3 separate regions of the Homo sapiens genome follow, and regions 1 and 2 are each linked to region 3. The links are contacts of gene promoters, found by promoter capture Hi-C in blood cells and fetal thymus (Javierre and others, 2016). All regions are on one chromosome and are shown on one strand. Each heading gives the region's core, a stretch centred on a gene start or on the middle of the fragment in contact. The rest is flanking DNA. Distances are from core to core; before and after follow the strand shown.

Region 1 (3,284 bases), core at 102-2,601, 580 kb after region 3:
ATGACACAGATAGGTTGAATGGAAATGAATGAAAAAGATATGTCATGCAAACAATATGCCTGAAAGGGTGGAGTGGCCATCCCAATGTCAGATAAAGTAGACAAGAGGCCAGGCACGGTGGCTCACGCCTGTAATCCCAGCACTTTGGGAGGACGAGGCGGGAGGATCGCCTGAGGTCAGGAGTTCGAGACCAGCCTGACCAACATGGCAAAACCCCTTCTCTACTAAAAATAGAAAATTAGCTTGGCGTGGTGGTGCACACCTGTAATCCCAGCTACTCAGGAGGCTGAGGCAGGAGAATTGCTTGAACCTGGGAAGCAGAGGTTGCAGTGAGCCGAGTTTATGTCACTGCACTCCAGCCTGGGCGACAGAGCAAGACTCCATTTCAAAAAAAAAAGAAAGTTAAACTGAAGACTGTTAAAGTTGTTTATAAAAATCAGATATCTGTGGATTAAAAAGTAGACAAGACAAAGATTATTACCAGGTAAAGCGGGACATTTCGTTGGACAACTCATGAGAAAGACATAACAATCATAAATCCGTATGCATCTAATAACAGAGCTTCCAGATATATAAAGCAAAATTGGCCAAATTAAACAGAGAAATGTACAGTTTACAGTCATAATCTGAGATTTTAATACCCCTTTCTCAGTAACTGATACAATTACCAGGCAAACAAAAACAAAACAAAAACATTAAAGATGCAGAACTTCTGAACAACACTATCAACCACCAAGACCTCATCCATATTTGTAGAACACTCCACCCAACAACTGTAGAATACACATTGTTTTCAAGTGCAAATGGCATATTCACCAAGATAGACCATATGCTGGGCTATAAAACAAGTCTCAATAAATTTAAAAGCTTTGGAATCTTACCATTTATGTTCTCTTACCACAATGAAATTAAACTAGAAAGTAATTAAAACCACATATTTTAAAACTCAAATATATGAAAATTATACAATGCACTCGTAAATAATTCATTGGCCATTGTCATTGCTCAAAATATTTCAAAGCCATTTAGCAGGTACAAGTTATGACGTGAAACAGGTTGTGATTTGAACAAAACGCTAGAGGCCAAAGTGAACAGTTTTTCTAAAATCCATGAAAAAACTTTAAGGTTGGTCCAAAGCAAGATACATGATCAAATATCTCATCTGCTATTTTATCCTCAGCATCAGAATTTTAAAATCCTTTGTTGCAAGCTAGTTAGCCTGGTACTCTCCTATCTAGGCTGCTAGAAGCATATACACAGAAAATTCATCTTTCCCTACTCTGTAGCACCTGTGTTACTCTCTATTCTCTGAAAGTTTTAGATATGTTGTAAATAGTCATCTCTTAGATTTCCTTGTATTTAGAAAAGTTGTTTTTTGGTACTACAACAAAAATTGTTGTTTGGTTGTAATTGTTGGTGAGCACACTGGAAAAAAGAAAAAAAAAACAAATACATTTTCACTTTATTGCTCACTAAGATAAAAAAATCAAGAAAGACCAGTTTTAGGACTATACTTTTCACTGTGTTCCCACACACTTGGGAATGAGTTCAGATTAGCTGTCATACGGCTATAGGGCACTAACATCTTCTATCCTCTTACATCAGGTAAAACCCACTGAAGGATGCCAGGACATCTTTCTCCAGAGATATTTGCCAGTTTTAATCAGCTTTCAGGAAAAATGAAATCTACCATCTCACTAATCCCTTATCCTGTGCCAAAGCCTGGTCCTGCCTCAGTTCTTGTCTGCTTGCCCTTATGTCCCCTTGGGAATGTGTTCCAAGATGTTTTGACACCTGAAGTTTGGGTTAGGTCAGTGTTCCTAAGCCCAAGCTTGCATCCAAATCACCAGGAGGGCTTGTCAAAATAGATTGCTCAGTCCACCCCCAGAGTTTCTGATTTTGCATGTCTTGGGGGGATCCTGACAGTCTTCATGTCCAGCTAGCCCCCAGGGAATATCAATGCTGCCAGTCTGGAGACTACACTCAGAAAACCATGAGGATTTCCTGCTAAAAAGAAAAGATAATGCTACGAAAAGGTCTAAGATTCCTCAAAGGATTTAGTTGGTTGTAAAACATCAAGGACTGCTTCTTCCCTGGGGACTAAAAAATAATAATAATAAAAAAATCAAGACTATTTGAATTGAGACATTTCCCACTCTCCTGTGCCTCTTAAAATACTTTAAAAGTGTTTTATTTTATTTCATTTTATTTTTTTATTTTGAGACAGAGTCTGGCTCTATCACCCAGAGTGGAGTACAATGGCTCTATCTTGGCTCACTGCAACTTCTGCCTTCCGGGTTCAGGCTATTCTCCTGCCTCAGCCTCCCAAGTAGCTGGGACCACAGGTGTGAGCCACCACACTGGCTAATTTTTGTATTTTTAGTAGAGACGGGGTTTCACCATGTTGGCCAGGCTGGTCTCAAACTCCTGATCTCAGGGGATCCACCCACCTCGGCTTCCCAAAGTGCTGGGATTATAGGCGTGAGCCACTGTGCCCAGCTGAAAAGTATTTTTAAAAATACAAAATAAAAATACTTGAAAATACTTAAAAAGTAAAAAAAAACTTTAGGATTTTATGGGAAAAAACCCTCAGAAGCAGAAAGTCAAATATCACATGTTTTCACTTTCACAAGTGAGAGCTAAACAATGGGCACACAGGGACATAGAGTAGAAGAATAGACACTGGAGACTACGAAAGGCAGGGGTGGGACTGAGGGGTGAGAAATTGCCTGTCGGGTACAATGTATGCTATTTGGGTAGTGAGTACACTAAAAGCCCAGACTTCACCACTGTACAATCTATGCACCTAAGAAATCTGCACTTGTACTCCCTAAATATATAAAAATTTGTAACAACTTTTAAAAAAGAATAATTGGCATTGTTACAGAGCCTGGTTAGACAATCCTCACAGTAAAGTTCTTTTTGCTTCCTTTGAAAACAAATAATAAGAGAAAGTGTCAGGAGTATTTTATAAATAAATTATGGGCCCACAGTGTATTGGCTCTGTTCCAGGGAATGACACAATCAATAATGATGTGTCGTTGTTTAGTGCATTAATCCAAATTCTCATGAAGTAGCAGTCAGGCTGTGGCTCCAATGCTGAACTTGTTAAAGAAGGTATAGGAAAAATTTAGGATGAATTTTTGATCAACTCTTTAAAAAGGATTTCTTTTTTTTTTTTTTTTTTTTTTTTTTTTGAGGCGGAGTCTTACTCTGTCACCCAGGCTGGAGTGCAGTGGCGCAATCTCGGCTCACTGCAAGCTCTGCCTCCCAGGTTCACACTA
Region 2 (3,554 bases), core at 306-2,805, 540 kb after region 3:
AGGTGGGAGGACTGCTTGAGGCCAGGTATTCAAGGCTAGCCCAGACAACACAGACCCCGTCTCTACAAAATATTTTTTAAAATTAGCTGGGTATGGTGGTACATGCCTGTAGTCCCAGCTACTAGGTAGGCTGATGTGGGAGGATCACTTGAGCCCAGGAGACAGCTCTCTGGCAGTGAGCTGAGATCACGCCACTGCGTGACAGAGCAATACCCTATATCAAAAAAAAAAAAAAAAAGAAAGAAAGAAAAGAAAAAAAAGCAGAAATACTCTTTCATCAGGGTCTTTTCAAAGACGATTCCCTCTACCTGAAACACTTTTCTTAGATAACTGTTCTTCATCTCCTTTAGGCCTTTTGATACAGTTTGGATATTTGCCTCCTCCAAATCTCATGTTGAAATGTAATCCCCAATGTTGGAGGTGGGGCCTGGAGGGAGGTGATTCGTAGGGGTGGATCCCCCATGAATGGTTTGGCACCATCCCCTCAGTGATAAGTGAGTTCTCCCTCTGAGTTCACGTGAGATCTGGTTGTTTAAAAGCGTTTGGCACCTCCCCCTCACTCTCCCCATGTGACACAGGGACTTCCTTTCCCCTTCTGCCATGATTGTAAGCTTCCTGGGGCCCTCACCAGAAGTAGATGCCAGCACTATGCTTCCTGCAGAACCATGAGCCAATTAAACCTCTTTTCTTTATCCAGTCTCAGGTATTTCTTTATAGCAATGCAAGAACAGTCTAACACCTTTCGTACACTGTTTTCTTTCCATGCAGGCCAAGCATGACCACCATATGTGAAGCTGTGTACCCATCCTCCCACATCCGCTCCACTGCCCCACCTATCTTTCCTTTTACTCCGCTTTATTTTTCTCCATAAAACTTGTTTACCTTCTAATACGATATATAATTTACTTACTTATTTATCATCTGTCCACCCCCATAAATATAAACTCCATGAAGGCAAGCCATTGGGATTTTGTTCACTGCTATTGATGCTCAATTAATATTCATTATTAGAATAAAAAACAGAAAATAACTTGGGCACATCTCAAACTTACATTAGACTCACAAATAACCCCAAACAGTTACAATTATAATACAATTTTACAGGAAGTAGATTCATTCAAGAGAAACGGTAGAGGAAACCCACAGACACGTTTGAAAGGTTGGCCAATTATGTAAAAAAAAAAAAGGGTATTACAAGAAATATTCGATTCTACAGTGGATAAATAAAAGTAATTCCTACTTAATATTACTACTTTTTAACCTAATGCCAACTTTCATGCTTTAAAATATTTAGCTGTGCTTCTGCACTTAACCTTGATCATTGCAGACTAAAAGTAACAAAATATTGTTTTATACGAGTTTTCTTTATGCAAGTTTTACCTGTGAAGAATAGCTGGAAAGAAGAAGCCAAGTCTATAAATTCAGCAAAATTCAACTTTTTCCACCTGAAGCTGTAACAACTTAATTTTATTTCTATTATACATCTAAAGCATTTATATACTATCTGATTTTATCCTTACACAGCTTCATGAGGGGACGACTGAAAAATATCATCACCAATTTATATATGAAGAAACTGAAACTCAAAGTAAGCTGTTTGTCTAGTAACAGAGTTGGAAAAGTTTCAGTTTTCTTCATAAATCCAGTGATCTTTCTTCCCATAATTTGTATGGACATATGTTTTTTATCTAACAGATTAAAAACAGAATTTTCTTCCCATAAATTGTATGGTCGTATTTTTTTATCTAACAGATATGGCACACTTTATCTACTATAAAATGCATCCCAGGCCGGGAGCATTTTATAGTAGATAAAGTGCTCATGCTTGTAATCCCAGCACTTTGGGAGACCGAGGCGGGTGGATCGCCTGAGGTCAGGAGTTCAAGACCAGCCTGGCCAACACGGCGAAACCCCGTCTCTACTAAAAATACAAAAAATAAGCTGGACATGGTGGCGGGCACCTGTAATCCCAACTACTCAGGAGGCTGAGGCAGGAGAATCGCTTGAACCCAGGAGGCGGAGGTTGCAGTGAGCCAAGATCGCGCCATTGCACTCCAGCCTGGGCAACGAGAGTGAAACTCCATCTCAAAAATACAAATAGAAACAATAAAATGCATCCCAACTTCAGAGGTGATAAAAATATAAATTAAGGTGTTTATGAAGTAATTCAGTATAATTTTTATGCTGCATGAGAATTTTTCTCAAAACAACCAAAAGTATAAGGAAAAAGAATCACGAAAAAGAGAAAGAAACAAACATGGAAAGATGTTATAAGAATGAACACACACAGGAGAAACAAAACTGCAACTTCTGAAATTTCCCTCCTGATTTTAAAACTGGCAGGGCAACTCTTAAAAAGTCCCAGTAAATATATGTTTGGTCATATTTTTCAGTTTGGTTCTATTTAACAAAGTCAGCTACCTTTTTTTTGGTTGTTTGTTTTTAATAGAGCTTTCTTCTCTGGTTAAGAAGCACAAGGAGACACATTATAAAGCTTCAAAATATTACGTATTTTAATACAAATTTTATTTCATATTTTCTAAAATTTCCCACAAATCACTAAGCATAATTTTCAAAAGTTTTTTTCACTACTTGTCAAAATCTTTTCAGCCTAAAATATTCCTATAAACTATTAAAAATAAGTCATTTTCCCAAATCATTTTCATTTTTATGTATATCCTAAATGGTATCAAAAAGACCCACACACTATTTCTACATTTCCTTGATTCAATCACACCTCCTTTATTCCCCCAACTTCTCTAACCCACAAATATCTGCCACAGTCCTAAATTTTATGGTACCTAAAGTCAGTATATTCCTTATACGCCATTTAATTTTCCCATTCCATGTCTCTCATCTAGATCCTGTCTTCACAATGCATTTGCCTTTATAGGTATTTATTATTTCCCACAGTTCTCAAAAGAGTGCACACAGTAGACAAAAGTTTATTGACTGAATACAATTCCTGAAAACATATGTATAAAAGGTAGTAAATAAAAAAGAGCCTTCATAAAAGCACATTGATTTTTACGCCCTGTTTGGTTTGCTGCTGTATTTCCAAACTGAGAACAGAGCCTGGCACACAGTAGGCACTCAATAATTGTTGAATGAAGAAACTGAAAGTTTCTTTAAATGCAGGAAGCTCTGAGGCAAGTCATTCTCTTAGAATACTGTGAAGGTGAATTCAGGAATGTAGCTTCCCCCTTTTCTTCTATATTTACAAACTGTTAACACATACTACACTAATTTAAGCTTGTCCAGTACTGGCGATCCTATTAACTAAAATAATCAAGCCATAAACAACAAGAAAAATCAACTGTTAACATTTTGCCTAGTGATCAAATTTCCTTGTTTGGGACTTCCAACTTGTTTTTAGTGACATGCTTTCTGAGCTGATCATGAATGTGGCACGAATCTCAGGCTCATCAGCAAGCCACCAGAGCATGTGGACAGTTCAGCTGATACAGTCCTAAGTTCCTCAGTAAAATGCTTCAACACAGCAATGATGATGTTTCAGGCATCTGCCGTTCCCATATGCAATCCTGGTTTAACCA
Region 3 (3,345 bases), core at 143-2,642:
TTTTACAGACCCTAAAGCCACCCCAAAAGTGATAAGCAAGCTTCCGAAAAAGATGTCTGAAGAATACAAATCCTCCACCGTATCCTGTCCGTTGCATCCACTCCCACCTGCTACCACTTCTATCCACTTTACCGATATGGTCACGATGAGCGCTACAAAATTGCTGCCAAATAAGTAAATATGAGCGCAACACAAAGCCAGTTGGTGGGGACCAAAAAGTACCTTTAGAGGCACTCAGCCCCTTCGTAAAAGTCAGCATGTGTTTAGCTCTTTAAAACATCTCGCCTTACCAAACTCTACGAAGAATGAGAATTAAGACCGTCCTCTAACCTAACCCATGCGGATATGAAAAGTGGAAGGAGATTTCAAGACAGGTTTATACTAACTAATCCATTAGCCCAAGGCAGATCAGAGCTGTCAACAAATCAGGACCAAATCAGAAAGAACAAAGTTGCAAATGTGAGAGGGTGTGTATGCACTGGTGCGGGGGAAGAGGATGGGTGGGAGGACAATTTTTAAAATGCAATCATTGAAAACGGGAGAATCCAAGTCCTCTGTCTCCCAGCCGGCCTCCAAACCTCGATTCCACGGGCAGTGCCGGGAATGGACCTAATCCCAGGATCGCAGGGATTTGGGGGCGGGGTGGGGCTGCCTCCCGCACCCGCGTGCCTGAGCGCCCAGCCCCCGCGATGAGGACGCGCTCGGGACACTCACGTTTTCTGCACCGGCTTCCGCCGCTTGCGACTGGCGTAGGTGATGTTGGCGCTGCTGCTGTTCATGGTGCCCAGCCGACGGCGGCGGCTACTCCCCGGGCACTGGCGGCCGGGTCCCCGGAACCCGGTGTAGGCTGGGACCACTGCGGCGGCCGGCGCCGGGTTCCGCGAAGCCGCGCCCGCTCCACCTGCGTCCTCTCGGGACAGTGGCGTGGGCGCCGCGCCTCAACGCCTCGGCTCACGCAGGCTTCCGCAGCCCGCGCCAGTACAGGTGAGCTGCCTGGGCCTGGCGCAGTGAGGGTGGGCGAGGGGCGGAGACCCGCGAGCAAGGCGGCGCAGGTGCCGTCTACACCGGCGGAGGCGGCGCGGCAATGCCCGCAGGTGAGGCGGCCCGGGCGGAGGAGGAGCCTGGGCCGTCTATTTAGAATCCTGGCCTGGGTCGCTCACGGTGGCGCCGCGCCCCGTGACCGTCGCCGCGGCCCCTTGGGTGAGGGAGGTGCCGCCGCGCTGCTCCCGGGACTTCCTAAATCCAGGGTGCTTCCCGCCTGCGGAGCTCGGGCGCGGGCCACCAGTCCCGGCTGCTCCCAGCTTCCGTTCGGCTACACGGCTGCCCCTGTTCTGAGCTGGCGGTCCGGGGCACGCTCTCGGAACAGAGCGTCGACGGGACTCCCCAGCCACTGCCTCCCGCCGCCGCGCGCACCGGCTGAATAGCAGGAGCACCCCCGACCCCTCACCGGCCCCGCCCCGCCCAGATCCCGCGTAGCCCCGCCCCGTCCTGCTTGCCCCCGCCCATCTGGATTCCATTCCGTCTTCCTTGAGGGCCCCACCCTCATCCCGGCACGTGATGACGTAGGACGTAAGGACGCCCCCCCCCGCCGGTAGCCATCTTCGTGCATAGGCAAACTTATTGTAGCTAGACTGTACAAAGTATATCAAGATATGCCAAATATTGAGCTTAACTTCACCTGTTTGAGAGACGGTGGGTCAGCTAACTTGTGGCTAAGAATTACAATTAACTGGTAGACAACTGGTAGACAACCAATGGGACTGTATATTTTCCTAGTTGGGAAGGCTTCAGAAGGCCAGATTTGAGTTGAGACTTGAAGGCTAGGAGTTTCCTTGACCTTTTTTGGTGTGCGGGGGAAGTCTTTACAATAGACAGGAATATAGATAATAAGGGGACTATTATGTATTGTGTCATGGAGGACCATGTGGAAAAATATTGGGAGTAATTAACAATATTGAATACTGTTGAGAAATTCAAATTAGTTGAGAACTGAAAATGTCATTCTTGTTTTCTCAATGTGTAGTCACTGATGACTTTCGTGAATGCAGTGTTGGGGTAATGGGCCTGCAAATAACATTGAAGTGGGTACAGGATTGAGCTGAAGATAACAAAATGGCATCCTCAAGCAGGCAATTTTTCTTCCAAGTTTAGCTGTGGATGAGAGACACATCAGATTGTATGTAGGGGGAGTGAAGGGTTAAATGAGGGTTTTCTAGTTTTGGTTTAGTTCTTTAATGGGCGATACTGAGCGGCTTAGAGGGGGTAGAGATAAACTATGTAGGGAACCTGAGGGAAGAGTGAAGGAATGATAGATATTAAGATACCGAAAGCAGGAGGGAATGAGTGCCAAAGCATAAATGGGAGATTAGGACTAATAGATTAGATACTAACAGAAACAGCACTTACAGTGCTTTGCTATTCAGAGTACTCCACAGCTTCTTTTGAGAGTTACAGGAAATGCAGACTCTTTGGGTGTCCTTATTAAATCAGAACCCGAAGTTCACAGGAACTCCCAGGTGATTCAAATGTACATAAAGTTGGAGGAGCAGTTCTCTACCATAGCTGGAGGAAAGAAGGACAGTGGGTGAGATATAGTAGGCTACTAAATTTTGGATCAGAAAAATGAAGGAGATGTAACAAAGAGGGTATTCTAGCATGAGCTACAAAAGAACAATTGTGTTTTGTGGTCGATGATCTTTGTTTTAATTTTAGAAGAGCATAAAGTGAAAGTGATCTGGGAAGTGACAACAAGGAAGTAGATGGACATCCACCCTGTATCCTGTGATAAGAGAAAATAATTAGGCAGTATTGGGGAGACCTTTAGGAAAGTGATAGCCTCAGTAAGCCACCTTTCAGTTTAAGGAAAAAGATGGAGCAAATTCCCAAAGAAGACAGTGTACACTGGGAAAGTTTGATGTTTATGAATTAGCAATTGCAGAGGCAGAATCAACCATCTCTATTTTTCCCTTCTCTTTCATTTCTTCATTTATCTGTGCTTACTTATAGCCATTCTATCTAAAACGTGTAAGTGTAAAAGAATAATTTCCTCCTAGCTAGGAACTTTAAGGGTGAAAAATTTATATCAAAACATAATTTATTGATTCTGTAGCTTATAACTCCTCTTCATAAAAGAGATGTACTAAATGCAATGAACCAATCTTAATTTAGTGATTTAAAAAAATCCTACCCTTTTTAAGGTTGTTGGCTATTTGGTGCAGTCATTTTCTACCTTATTTTGACTTTCATACCCTTATTTTTTTATGGTTAAGTTTAGGATTATTTTCATTATCCAGAAGTCATATGCTATATTATGTTACATAGTCTTAGTTAAGTAACAGATCTTTG

Evidence for each region. The method cuts DNA at HindIII sites, captures the fragments that hold promoters and counts their contacts. A CHiCAGO score of 5 or more calls a contact.
Region 1: a fragment that was not itself captured here is called in contact with the fragment with the promoter of AHR in region 3 in 1 of 17 cell types (activated CD4 T cells); the score reaches 5.1 in activated CD4 T cells.
Region 2: a contact is called between a fragment that was not itself captured here and the fragment with the promoter of AHR in region 3, in 1 of 17 cell types (total B cells). The highest score is 6.2, in total B cells.

What each region holds. Positions count from the first base shown.
Region 1 is chr7:16,713,614-16,716,897 of GRCh38, reverse strand. No RefSeq gene overlaps it. Among named protein-coding and RNA genes, the nearest start is that of TSPAN13, 38 kb to the left of the region's middle. The HindIII fragment of the contact is 964 bases long and covers 870-1,833 here.
Region 2 is chr7:16,756,384-16,759,937 of GRCh38, reverse strand. The region is part of intron 1 of TSPAN13 (tetraspanin 13); the gene reads right to left. Among named protein-coding and RNA genes, the nearest start is that of TSPAN13, 4.4 kb to the right of the region's middle. RefSeq lists a silencer at 3,300-3,554. The HindIII fragment of the contact is 1,883 bases long and covers 614-2,496 here.
Region 3 is chr7:17,296,699-17,300,043 of GRCh38, reverse strand. AHR (aryl hydrocarbon receptor) reads right to left here and starts at 1,392. Exons shown (of 11, transcript NM_001621.5): 1 at 715-1,392. The coding sequence starts at 779. It overlaps LOC101927609 (a long non-coding RNA gene), which reads left to right and starts at 724. Exons shown (of 12, transcript XR_007060234.1): 1 at 724-984. RefSeq lists silencers at 718-767, 808-917, 968-1,117. The HindIII fragment of the contact is 6,297 bases long and covers 43-3,345 here.